Linked DNA regions of Homo sapiens: regions 1, 2 and 4 are each linked to region 3. Evidence: promoter capture Hi-C in 16 types of primary human blood cells and fetal thymus (Javierre and others, 2016). All regions are on one chromosome and are shown on one strand. Each heading gives the region's core, a stretch centred on a gene start or on the middle of the fragment in contact. The rest is flanking DNA. Distances are from core to core; before and after follow the strand shown.

Evidence for each region. The method cuts DNA at HindIII sites, captures the fragments that hold promoters and counts their contacts. A CHiCAGO score of 5 or more calls a contact.
Region 1: a contact is called between a fragment that was not itself captured here and the fragment with the promoter of TMEM11 in region 3, in 1 of 17 cell types (total B cells). The highest score is 7.5, in total B cells.
Region 2: a contact is called between a fragment that was not itself captured here and the fragment with the promoter of TMEM11 in region 3, in 2 of 17 cell types (erythroblasts and neutrophils). The highest score is 5.5, in erythroblasts.
Region 4: a fragment that was not itself captured here is called in contact with the fragment with the promoter of TMEM11 in region 3 in 1 of 17 cell types (neutrophils); the score reaches 10.1 in neutrophils.

The regions. Positions count from the first base shown.
Region 1 is chr17:21,092,038-21,095,049 of GRCh38, forward strand. No RefSeq gene overlaps it. Among named protein-coding and RNA genes, the nearest start is that of LINC01563, 18 kb to the left of the region's middle. The HindIII fragment of the contact is 212 bases long and covers 1,207-1,418 here.
Region 2 is chr17:21,316,669-21,320,114 of GRCh38, forward strand. No RefSeq gene overlaps it. Among named protein-coding and RNA genes, the nearest start is that of MAP2K3, 34 kb to the left of the region's middle. RefSeq lists enhancers at 345-854, 1,192-1,868, 1,869-2,545. The HindIII fragment of the contact is 4,272 bases long and covers 1-3,446 here.
Region 3 is chr17:21,212,839-21,215,837 of GRCh38, forward strand. TMEM11 (transmembrane protein 11) reads right to left here and starts at 1,323. Exons shown (of 2, transcript NM_003876.3): 1 at 1,253-1,323. The coding sequence starts at 1,314. TMEM11-DT (TMEM11 divergent transcript) reads left to right here and starts at 1,487. Exons shown (of 2, transcript NR_184102.1): 1 at 1,487-1,612. RefSeq lists enhancers at 1,225-1,324, 2,095-2,304 and silencers at 1,405-1,544, 1,665-1,934. The HindIII fragment of the contact is 13,322 bases long and covers 384-2,999 here.
Region 4 is chr17:21,112,125-21,115,401 of GRCh38, forward strand. No RefSeq gene overlaps it. Among named protein-coding and RNA genes, the nearest start is that of DHRS7B, 13 kb to the right of the region's middle. The HindIII fragment of the contact is 4,183 bases long and covers 1-3,277 here.

The sequences.
Region 1 (3,012 bases), core at 63-2,562, 120 kb before region 3:
GAGGTGGGAGGATTGCTTAAACTAGAGGCGGAGGTTGCAATGAGATGAGATCACACCACTGCACTCCAGCCTGGGTAACAGAGTGAGACTGTCTCAAAAATAAAATAAATAAGTAACATTTTTTTCTGACCTTCCCTGTTCTTTCTGAGACCCCCTTGTTAAATTTTAAGACTTGCAGTTTTTGAGGCCTGGTTCTGAAGTGAACTACTCAGCATTACTTGCAAAGGACAGACCTGCAAAGTGACGTTTTGCTGGCAGAAATGGAGAAGGAGCTGAGTACAGATTTCATGTAATAAAAGTGAAATGAAAATGAAGTGCACGTGGAAATGTTCTTCTCTGAAACGAATTAGACTATCCTGTATTTAGCTGTTTTGGGGAAAACATTCAATATTAATATCTCTTATGCTTCTTGAAACCACCCCCACCACCTTCTTCTTCTTTTTTTTTTTTTGAGACAGAGTCTGTCTTTTGTCACCCAGGCTGGGATACAGTCGCATGATCGTGGCTCACTGCAACCTCCACCTCCCAGGTTCACGTGATTCTCCTGCCTCAGCCTCCCAAGTAGCTGAGATTACAGGCGTGTGCCACCACACCCAGCTAATTTTTTTTTTTTTTTTGAGACAGAGTCTTGCTCTTGTTGCCCAGGCTGGAGTGCAGTGGCGTGATCTTGGCTCACTGCAACCTCCGCCTCCCAGGTTCAAGCTATTCTCATGCCTCAGCATCCTGAGTAGCTGGGATTACAGGTGCCCGCCACCACGCCTGGCTAATTTTTGTACTTTTAGTAGAGACGGGGTTTCACCATGTTGGCCAGGCTGGTCTCAAACTCCTGACCCAGGTGATCCGCCCGCCTTGGCGTCCCAAAGTGCTGGGATTACAGGCTTGAGTCACTGCATCCAGCCTTTTTTTTTTTTTTTTTTTGTATTTTTTTAGTAGAGACGGGGTTTCACCATGTTGGCCAGGCTGGTTTCGAACTCCTGACCTCATGCAATCTGCCCGCCTTGGCCTCTCAAAGTGCTGGAAGTACAGGCATGAGCCACTGCACTCGGCCACCCCTTTTTCATCTATGTTTGTGTGGTCTTTACAACTGCCCCATGAAGCAGGCATCAATTTCCATTTCACCCACAAGGGACTGCGGCTCAGAGGCCCAAATTCACACAGTTTTAGTGGTGGCTGAGGATGTGAAGCTGGCTTTCTGAGGCCTTGATAAGCTTCAGCAATAACAAGGCTGACTGATACTTATTAAGTAGTTACTATGTACCAAGACCTGTTCTATTGCGATACATAGATCCATCCATCCACCCATCCATCCATCCATATACAGTTGACCTTGAACAATCGGTGGGCGGGGGTGGGGGGGTGTTAGGAACACCAACCCCCTACACAGTTGAAAAACTGCATATAACATTGGATTCCCCCAAAGCTTAACTACCAACAGCTTACTGTTGATGGGAAGCCTTACTGATAACATAAAGTTGATTAGCACATTTTTTTAATGTTATATATATTCTACTCTGTATTCTTAACAATAAAGTAAGCTAGAGAAAAGAAACCATTATTTAGAAAACCAGGCTGGGCATGCTGGTGCACACCTGTAGTCCCAGCTACTTGGGAAGCTGAAGCAGGATGATCGCTTGAGCCCAGGAGGTTGAGGTTGCAGTGAGCCGAGATCCCGCCACTGCACTCCAACCTGGGTGACAGAGAGAGACCCTATCTCAAAAAAAAAAAAAAAAAGAAAGAAAGAAAGAAAGAAAAGAAAAGAAAAGAAAATCAGGCCGGGTGCAGTGGCGCACACCTGTAATCCCAGCACTTTGGGAGGCCAAGGCAGGAGGATCACTTGAGTCCATGAGTTTGAAACCAGCCTGGGCAACATAGTGAATTCCTGTCTCTACAAAAAATACAAAAATTAGCCAGGAGTAGTGGTGCACACCTGTGGTCCCAGATACTCTGAGGCCGAGGTGGGAGGATCACTTGAGCCTGGAGGTCAAGGCTGCAGTGAGCTGAGATTGTGCCACTGCACTCCACCATGGGTGACAGAGCAAGACACTGTCTCAGAAAAAAAGAGAAAATAAAATTATAAGGAAGAAAATATATTTAGTGGGTCGTCATAAAAGTCTTCATCCTCATCATCTTCATGTTGAGTAGGCTAAGGCAGAAGAGGATGAGGGGGAGAAAGAGGAGGAGGGAGAGGGGGAGGAGGGGTTGGTGTTGGGGTCTCAGGAGTGGTAAAGAAGTGGTGGAGGAGATGGAAGGGGAGACAGAAGAGGCAGGCACATTTTATTTTTTTAAATCCGTTTATAAATAGACTCATCCAGTTCAAACCTGTATTGTTCAAAGGTCAACTGTATGTATAATTTAAACCTCATAACAACCCAATGAGGTAGTTGAGACTGGCTCTGTCTGATGTTGACTCATTAGACTCTTCAACCCAGAACATATTTACACTTCAAAAAGTAAAAAGGAAGGCCAGCCGTGGTGGCTTACATCTGTAATCCCAGGGCTTTGGGAGGCCAAGATGGGAGGATTGCTTGAGGCTAGGAATTCAACATCAGCCTGGGCAACAATAGCAAGACCCTGTCACCACCAAAAAAAAAAAAGTTAGCCAAGCATAGTGGTGCGCACCTGTAGTGCCAGCTACTCGGGAGGCTATGGCGGGGGGAACCCTTCAACTCAGGAGTTTGAGTCTGCAGTGAGCTATGATCACACCACTGCACTCCAGCATGGGTGACAGAGTGAAAGCCTGTCTCTCAAAATAAAATAAAATAAAAACAAAAAGCTTTCAATTTCTAAAAACCTTGCATTCTGAGACAGGCCATGAATATAGAAGCTTCCAGGAAGCCTTGAAATACACCAAAAGCTTAGCATCTTATATAAACCATATCTTGTTTTTAATTAATCAAAGACAGAAATTTCTGGTTTTTATCAAAAGAAGACAAGCAACCTCCAATGACAATTGATGACATCTGTATAATAATTTGAACAATAAGCACCACCTTCTCTCTCTTTTTTTTTTTT
Region 2 (3,446 bases), core at 377-2,876, 100 kb after region 3:
GAATCCCTTGCCGGGGCGCGGCCCCAGGCTCTGTCTCCTGTAGCCGCCAGGGGGCGGTAGAGCTCGGCTTCAACCGCGTGTCCTGGAGCCCCGCCCGGCCCCGAGCGCCCGTCCGCGTCCTCGTGCGTCCTCGGCGCAGCTGGAGGCCGCGGGCTTGCCACGCGTCAGCCCAGTTCTCGGCCTCTGCGGCTGTCCTGCCCGTGTGCACCCCCTGGCCCGGCCCTCGGGGCTTCCGGGGACTCTGCAGCCTGCAGACAGCAGCAGACCCAACGCCTAGAGATTTACCGTGCGCGCCCCTGAAGTTACCCAGCGCCCCGCAGGCCACCGCGCCCCTCGCGGCTCGCAGGCCTGGCTGGACGCCGCAGGCCTGGCTGGATGCCGCAGCCCTTCACAGAGAGCAGGCTCCTCCGCGCACGACTGCAGCCCCAGTCGTTTGCAGTTCCCTTGCCATTTATGGGACCCTTTGGCTTTTACAGAGCGTGTCCAGCCATCAGAGTGCGGAAGCCAGTGCGCAGGTCACTAACATTTACAAAGCACAGGCCCTTGACAGTTTATACTACCCGTGGAGGTCTCAAGCGGCAGGGCCCCTCTCCCCTGTTCCCTGTCCCTGAGGTGGGGGAATGGGGATGGGGAGCGGCCGCCCCCCCCTCCCCCGAGGCCGGACGCCCGCATTTCCTGTCAGGCAGCAGGGTCCGGGCAGGCGCCTCTTCCAGGCCCGGGATTAATGAGTCTCTGGACTGGGAGATGGCAGAGGCATGTAGACTTTGTTCAATTACAGCCGTGAGAGCCTCCTCATCAGGCAGCATTAAAACTGCAGCAGACAGGCCGGGCGTGTTGGCTCACGCCTGTAATCCCAGCACTTTGGGAGGCTGAGGTAGGTGGATCACCTGAGGTCGGGAGTTCGAGACCAGCCTGGCCAAGATGGTGAAACTGCGTCTCTACTTAAAAAAATACAAAAATTAGACGGGCATGGTGGCGCACATCTGTAATCCAAGCTATCTGGGAGGCTGAGGCAAGAGAATCGCTTGAACCTGGGAGGCAGAGGTTGCAGTGAGCTGAGATCGAGGTGCTACACTCCAGCCTGGGGGGCAGAGTAACACTCCGTCTCAAAAAAAAAAAAAAAAAGAAAAAAGAAAAAAATGCAGCAGACAGGCCTGCTCAGGAGCAGGGAGGCTGCGGAGGGAGGATTTGGCGAATTCCCTTCTAGAGGCCAGGGCGTGAAGCCTCTCCTCCAGATCCCTGCTGCAGCTACCGTCTTCGGTGGGGGCCTCCTCATGGTCCACAGTGCCCCACCCCGGGCGCCCACCCCTGCCTCCCCTGTACCCTGTGCCTGGCTCCCTGCGCTTCACCCCGAGCCTGGCGGTGCAGGGCCTCTGCAGGAGCTGTCTTGTTCTCCTCCCGGAACGCTCTTCCCCGGATGTGCTCCCGCTTTGGGGTCTGCTCAGATGCCTCCCTGACCACACTTGTCCTGCCGCACTTTCTTCACATTTATTCATTTTCATTCTTGCCCACTGGCCGCCTCCCCCGCAAGACCAGGAGGAGCCGGCCTTGCTCACAGGAGACAGGGCAGGTGCAGGAAGGCTGCCGCAAGGCCCAGCGCAGGCAGCAGGCAGCAGGGCTGTGCGGGAGGTGGTCTGGGGACAGTGCTGCCATTCCGTTTATTCCGGGGGTCTGCTCTGGGAAGGCTTTCCAGGAGCGAGCCGATACTGAGCCGATAGGCGCGTTGTGCTGGCTGAGGACTCTGCACCTCAGAGAAGGGAAGCCAGGAGCTCCAAGTCAAACAGCAGGCAGCACCCGTGCCGGGGGTTAGCGTCCCGGCTGCGCTCCCGCTCCCATGCCCTCCCTCGGGGCCGAGCTCTGCTTCTGAGGGCGGAGCCCAAGGAGGCCCGTGCTGCCCACCTGGCGGCTCAGGCTCCAGCAGCCCCGAAACTGTGGTCAAGTCCCTCTTCCCCCAGGGAATCGGCAGGGGCCGGAAGGATTGAATATGTCCCCCAAGCTGCTGTGTTGGGAGGTGGGGCCTCACAGCAGGATTAGATCCTGGGGGCCTGCCCTCCTGAATGGATGAATGCTGCCAGCCATCTCCCAGTGGGTTAGTTACCGAGGGGGTTGGTTGTAATAAAAGGGCGTTTTGCCCTCCCCTGCTGCCTCCAGCACTCTCTTGCCTTTCGGCCTTCCTTCAGCCATGGGAGGACACAGCAGGGAGGCCTTGTCAGATGCCGGCCTGGATCTTGATTTCCCAGCCTCCAGAACCCTGAGAAATTTCTGTTGTTTAGAAAGTACCCAGTCTGGGCTGGGCACATGGCTCACACTTGTAATCCTAGCACTTTGGGAGGCCAAGGCGGGCGGATCGCTTGAGGCCAGGAGCTCACGACCAGCTGGGGCAACATAGCAACACCTCATCTGTACAAAAAAGCCAGGTGTGGTGGTGCATGTCTGTAGTCCCAGCTACTCCAGGAGCTGAAGTGGGAGGATTGCCTGAGCCCAGGAGTTCGAGGCTGCAATGAGCGGTGATTGCCACTGCACTCCAGCCTGGGTGACAGATTGAGACCCTGTCTCAATTTAAGAAAAGAATGAAGAAGAAATCATCCAGTTTGTGGTATTTTGTTATAGCAACAATGAAACAGATGAATACAGGCCCCCAACACCAGCATTATCTCATCCTGGTTTCCCTGTGGGCAGGGGCTGTGGTGGGCAGGCAGGACCAGTCACCTCATCTTCCAACAGGGGCTTCGCATCTGACCACACCTCTCCCTGATGCACCAATCCTCTCAACCACACCCCCACCAAGGCCTGCTGGCCTCTGCTTGCATACCTGCCCTGATGGGGAGCTCACTCCCATACAGACGCGATTCCTGGAGGGATCTGGGTTCCATCTTCTTTTCCCTGTTCTAGTTCCCCAGGCCTGTGACGTGAGGGGCCCATGTGTAAACCCTGGCTCACTCTCAATGCTCATTTCTTTGCCTCTTGTGAAAGCTGTTGCAAATCCTTTTGGAAACCAGGTGGGAGGGTCTATATATACACTGGCTGTACTATGTTTATCAGAGCTTGTGTATCTTCACGCCCAGGGCAGCCGGCTTCTCCTGGAGGTTACAGAGGCTCAGCGAGGCTCTGACCCCTCCTGAGGCCACCAGAGAGTGAGGCAGAGCCAGGGAAGCCCAGAAACCCAGGCGTCCTGCCCCTAGTCCCTACCCCCAGCTGAGGCTCTGCCCAGCCCCAGTGAGCCACCTGCCAAGCCAGGTTTAGCTGCAGCCACCCCCTCTGTCCTCGCAGAAGCCGTGGGCTGCTCTATTCCTGTTCTGGGCCAGCCTTATTGGGGACTTGAGTTGGGGAGGCCTGGCGAGGCAGCAGCAGCTGCAAGCTCTGGTTGGGGATGGGGGAGTTGCTCTGTGAACTAGCCTAGGAAATTCTTTCCTTGTCTGCCTCCCAAACCCTCCATGGCTCCCTAT
Region 3 (2,999 bases), core at 73-2,572:
ACCATTGAGGTAACTTATTTAAATGGTCCAATCTAATACCAGGCGGGAGTTAGAAAAACAAAAGTGTGTTTACCACTGCTTTTCCAAGGAAGAGGAAATGCAGAATGGGCAACGCTGGATAACTGGGCTAAAGAATAAAGTGCAAGCAAGCTAAAGGATTCTATCACAACTGCCAAACAGGAAGAATCTTCCCAGCTGGGAAAGCCATCTGCAAGCAATAGCAATGAACACGGGATGGAATCAGTCACAGAAAAGGAATAATGCAGAGTAGTTGAGAGGAAGATAACTTTTCTGTTAGACAATCCTCACCAAAAAGACGGGGAGGGGGAGAACCAGCAAAACAAAAACTTTTCCTTTTTTGCTGACCGCTGCTATAACAATCAAGCTTTAGCGGACAGTTAATCCAGGTGGCTCCACCAATACATCTTCTCCCAAATTTCTAGTGGCTGAACAGCTTCTAGTGGTTTCCACTAGCTGAAACTGCTTCCCAGATGCAAAAACTGCAACTTGAACATGAAACACGGAAACTACTCCAATCTCATCTTCTAGAAATCAGTTATTCAAATGGAGGTCCCTGTTGGAAGAAACACGCTCCTAGCTCCCTGCCCACACACCATTCATTAGGAAAGGTCACTTTAAAGGACTTCTACGGCAGGAGCGCTTGCACAGAACCATCCAAAAGTCTTCAGAATCTTCCCTCGAGGAAGTGGCCGGCTCTGGGCTCGGAAGAGACACATCTGGCGGGAGCTAAAGCTCCCTAGTAAACGTGCAGATCAAACTACCCCTGCCGCGGCCGGCCTGCTCTGTGAAGGCTTCCCCTTCTTTCTCTCTCCGGGGGCCCTGCCTTCCTCTACACGTCTGGGGCCGCGGCCGAGATGGCCACGCGCGTGCCCAGGCGGGAAGGGTGCTTCAGCAGCCGATCGGCCCGCGGGCAGCTAGGCGGGTCCCTGAGGCCTGCGCTGGGCGCCAGTTCCTTTCAGCACGGCCCGGCCTCGGGCCCCGCCCCGCATGGCCGCTGCCTACCTTACTCAGCCCGGCTAACGCCCCTTCCCCTAAGCTCTCCGCCGAGGCCTTCGACCTCGCTCCCACCCGGATCCCGGATCCTCCGGAACTGGAACCCAGTATGCCCGGCGAGGGTAGGGGGAGCGCGGGGAAACCAGGGAAGGAAGGCTGCTGCAGCCCTCGGAGGCCGCGCTGGGCTCTCCGGCCGCTGAGCCGCCTGCACTGGGGGCAACAAGCCCTTGGATCTCACCTCTCTCGGGCGCTGCCGCCACTGCTGCCCGGGCCAAGACGCCTCCTTCCCCAAGCGGCCATCTTGGAGACACTCTGCTTGCCAACGTCTCGCGCCAAGGCGGCATCGGGAGAGCAGGCGGGCCGACGGGAAGTGTAGTCCGGCCTGCGGTCCGGGGCCGCTCGGCAGGCGGAAGCCAGACCCGGCGGAACTACCGTGCCCACAAGGCAGCGCGCCGGAAGCCCCGCCCCCGGGGTCGCCGGGGCCCGTAGTCCTTCTGCGAGGGCGCGAGGACTCCAGGAGCCGTCCTGGTTCGAGCATTTCTGAAGAAACTGAGTTCCCGGCGTTCGCAGCCTGGGAGTCACAGGCGCCCACCCACCGGTAGGTCCTTGAGTTTCGAGAGCCAGTAGCTGAAGGAGAGAGGAGAGGCAAGTGCCTACAACTCCCAGAGCACTGCGCGGAGGCGCCCGGCCGCGCTGTCCTGGCCGCCAGGCTGCCTCTCCCGCTGGGGGCCGCCGCGCTGTCTGCGGGCTACTAGCGCCGGGCCCCTCCGCGTCGCCACGCCTGCCCTTCACAGCCTTGGCCCATAAGGTCACCGAGGGGCGGGAGGCGCCGCCCGGGCCCTCCTTGGAGGCGGGCGCTGCTCCCGCACCATCCTCCCCCAGTTCTCTTAGACTCCGGGGTACTTTGGAGGCCGAGACAGACACGCTGTCCCTGCTGCCACGGAGGTCCCTGCTTGCAGGTGCAGGCTGTTAGAGGAGAGGGTCTGAAAACAAGAAAGGGGAATAGCTGTATGATAACTGCTTGAAGGCGAGAGGGCCCAGCGACAGCTCTGTTTTAGACAGGGCCTCCAGGCCTCTTAGACTCAGTCCCTGCCACGCACCCACTCCTGCCCTGGCCGCTGCGACGGCATAATCTCGGGATCTTTGAAGGCAGATGCGGGGCTAAACCATCCCACCTGACGGGAACCCTGCCACAGGACCCGACATATCCCTGTCTGGACACTGCTGTAACGAGTCAAAGTCAGGAAGGACTAACTGGAGCCCAGAGATTCCCAGGTGCTGCTGCCTCAGACCTGTGGACTCTTTGGAGGATCTCTTACAGTTTGTGAACTTCTCAGTTCCTCTACTGCTCCCACAGACAACGTTGCTAAACATATTAATTGGTCCCATAAATACTTGAGCAAAACAAATGCGAAAATCTGTCCCGAATTCAGCCTAGAAGAAGCCCAGCCCTGCGCGTCACACTTCTGTGTAGTGGAACCCCCCTTCCCACCCCGCCGCAGGCCACAGCAGGAGGGCCAGCAGACGGAAAGGCGACCCTCTCCTTGTTGAGGATTCCTTTCGATTTCCTTCCAGCTGACATTCTACCACAGTTTTAGCTGCTTGCAATCCTCTCACCGTCCCTCATCACCTACAGTGTGTGATTCAAATTCCTTAGCACAATCAAGAAGCCCCTCCTTAGTTTGGAAGTTGCCTAGCTCTCCAAATTCAACTGCCTACCTTTCCCGTCTGGAACTTGCCAGGCTAGTAAATTCAGAGGGTTTGCAGATACGTAGATGTTCTATGCTTTACCTAAAATGCTTTTACCTCCCAGCCAACTTTTTTTTTTTTTTTTGAGACAGAGTCTTGCTCTGTCGCCCAGGCTTGAGTGCAGTGGTGCGATCTTGGCTCACTGCAACCTCCGCCTCCCAGGTTCAAGCAATTCTCCTACCTCAGCCTCCTGAGTACCTGGGATTACAGGTGGTGCCACCACACCCAGCTAATTT
Region 4 (3,277 bases), core at 671-3,170, 100 kb before region 3:
GGACTAAACTCCTGGACATAAAAAGAGTCTGAGAAATCCCAGCTACTTGAGAGGCTGAAGCAGGAGGATCACTTGAGCCTAGGAGTTTAAGGCTGCAGTGAGCTGTGATTGAGCCACTGCACTGTGGCCTGGGTAAGAGTAAGACCCTGTCTCTAAAATAAATAAATAAATAAATAAATAAATATTTTTAAAAAATTAAAAAGGAGTTAAAACTATTGAGTTCATCTACAATGCTTTCTTCAAAAGATCTTGATGAAAAGGGGAAAATGTGAAAATAAAACGTAAAAGCTGTTGGAACACCCAAAAAACACGTTAAGACTCGAGAGAGATGTGACTGTGATTTGAGTCACATGTGGTTACAATGTCTGCTCTCAGATTATAGATTAACTCACTTTCTTAGTTTTCTTGTCCTGTACAATGACTAGAGAGAACTAAAGGACATTAGGGACAAAACCCTCCTGCCTTCTTTTTTTTCTTTTTTCTTTTTTTTTGAGACGGAGTTTTGCCCTTGTTGCCCAGCTGGAGTGCAGTGGCGTGATCTTGGCTCACTGCAACCTCTGCTTCCTGGGTTCAAGCGATTCTCTTGCCTCAGCCTCCCAAATCGCTGGGATTACAGGCATGCGCCACCACACCGGCTAATTTTGTATTTTTAGTAGAGACGGGGTTTCTCCATGTTGGTCAGGCTGGTCTCGAACTCCCGATCTCAGGTGATCTGCCTGCTTTGGCCTCCCAAAGTACTGGGATTACAGGCGTGAGCCACCATGTCTGGCCTTGCCTTCTTAATTAATGACCCTTGTTAAATATTAACTTCCTGGCCAGGTGCAGTGGCTCACACCTGTAATCCCAGCAATTTGGAAGGCTGAGGCAGGCAGATCACCTGAGCCCAGGGTTTCAAGACCAGCATGGGCAACATGGCAAAACCCTGTCTCTACAAAAAACACAAAAATTAGCTGGGCATTGTGGCATGTGCCTGTAGCCCCAGCTACTCAGGAGGCTGAGACAGGAGGATCACTTGAGCACAGGAGGCAGGGGCTGCAGTGAGCCGAGATCATGCTATTGCACTGTAGCCTGGGTGACAGAGCAAAACCCTGTCTCAAAAAAAAAAAAAAAAACAAAAAAAACCCTGTCTCAAAAAAAAAACAAACTTCTCTTTTTTGTCCTGCTGTGCTTAGACTAGATGACAGAAACCTCATGATTATTAGACCCTCTGCAAAAAAAAAAAAAAAAATGTTAAATGTACCCTTCCCAAAAGAAGTACTACCTATAATTAATCAATTTGCTGTAACCGTGTGCTATCCTTGTATGAATAATGTTGTAATCTTGCAAAACTCCTCTGTCTCTGCCTATACAAATGAAATCGCTAAACGTCCCTATTTTGAAACGCTGACCTCATTCCTTTGGAGTTGGTGTTGGTAGCCTAGCCTTACACTTTGTGACTGAATAAACTCTCTTTAAATTAGATTCTGACCCTTTTGATTATTTTACATTGATGGAGTTTACAAAGTATAATGCACATTGTTAATTTTTTCTCAGTTACTTAAATTTTATTCACATGGTTCAAAAGCATTAAGTTAATACATTAAAATAACAATAAATAAAAAGTAAAGAATTCACTTAGTGACCTGTTCCCTCATTCTTATCCCCCCATCCCAGTTTCCATGTCCCATCCTTTGTGTGGTTTCTGAGCCTAGCTCCTTATGGATCTGTGTTTTGATTGGGCTGCAAATATTCACTCCTGTCACCTCTCCCCATTGTGGTAGAGTTCACTTCTCTTTTTGGCTGACTTTGGGCTTTGCCATATGTAGTGTACTTCGTTTGGGCACAAGTGAAAGTGTGTCATATCCAAGCAGAGGCTTTAGGAGGACTGATAAGTTCCCCCTAGACCTCTTGCACTCTTGCCATCTGCCATGACAAGGACTTGCCCCAGGTAGCCTCTGTACCTTCAGACTGGGTCCCAAAATGAGAGACATGTGGAGCACATGTGAACCTAATCGGCAGCCCAAACCACCTGACCTACAGATCTCTGAGCAAGAAAATGTTGGTCGCAAACCAATTTTAACAATGGTGGGGGGCAAACCAATTTTAACAATGGTGGGGGCAGTATTTGTTAATTTTTTTTTTTTTTTTTTTTTTTTTTGAGACGGAGTCTCCCTCTCGCCCAGGCTGGAGTGCAGTGGCGCGATCTCGGCTCACTGCAAGCTCCGCCTCCCAAGTTCACGCCATTCTCCTGCCTCGGCCTCCCGAGTAGCTGGGACTACAGGCACCCGCTACCATGCCCGGCTAATTTTTTTGTATTTTTAGTAGAGACGGGGTTTCATCATGTTAGCCAGGATGGTCTCGATCTCCTGACCTTGTGATCCGCCCACCTCGGCCTCCCAAAGTGCTGGGATTACAGGCGTGAGCCACCGCGCCCAGCCAATATTTGTTAATATTATCACAGTAAAATCAAGTCTCACTTTGCTTTTTTAAACTTTATATATGTCACTAAGATATGTAGTGACTTCTCCTGTTGGTGCATAGAGTTACTTCTTTGAGTTTCATGGTATTACAGTGTGTGGCTATACTCCGATGGATTTAACCAGGCTTCCATTAATGGATATTTGAGTTGGTTCAATCTTTTGCTATCAAAAATAAGGATGTATTACATAGTCTTGTACATACATCATTTTGCATATGTATTCGTCAGGGTTCTCTAGAGAGACAGGACTAATAGGATAGATGTGTATATGAAAGGGAGTTTATTAAGGAGTATTGACTCACAGGATCACAAGGTGAAGTCCCACAATAGGCCATCTGCAAACTGAGGAACAAGGAAACCAGCCCAAGTCCTAAAACCTCAAAAACAGGGAAGCCGACAGTACAGCCTTCAGTCTGTGGCCAGAGGCCCAAAAACCCCTGGCAAACCACTGGTGTAGGTCCAAGAGTCCAAAAGCTGAAGAACTTGGAGTCCGTTGTTCGAGGGCAGGAAACATCCAGCACAGCAGAAAGATGAAAGCTGGAAGACTCAGCCAGTCTAGTCCTCCTGTGTTCCTCTGCCTGCTTTTATCCTAGCTGTACTGGCAGCTAATTAGATGGTGCCCATCCAGATTGAGGGTGGATCTGCCTCTCTTAGTCCACTGAATCAAATGTTAATCTCCTTTGACAACACCCTGATGGACACACCCAGGAACAATACTTGGCATCCTTGAATCCAATCAAGTTGACACTCAGTATTAACCATCACAGCACATATGTAAATATATCTATAGAATCATGGAAGTGCTCAGATGGGGGCATA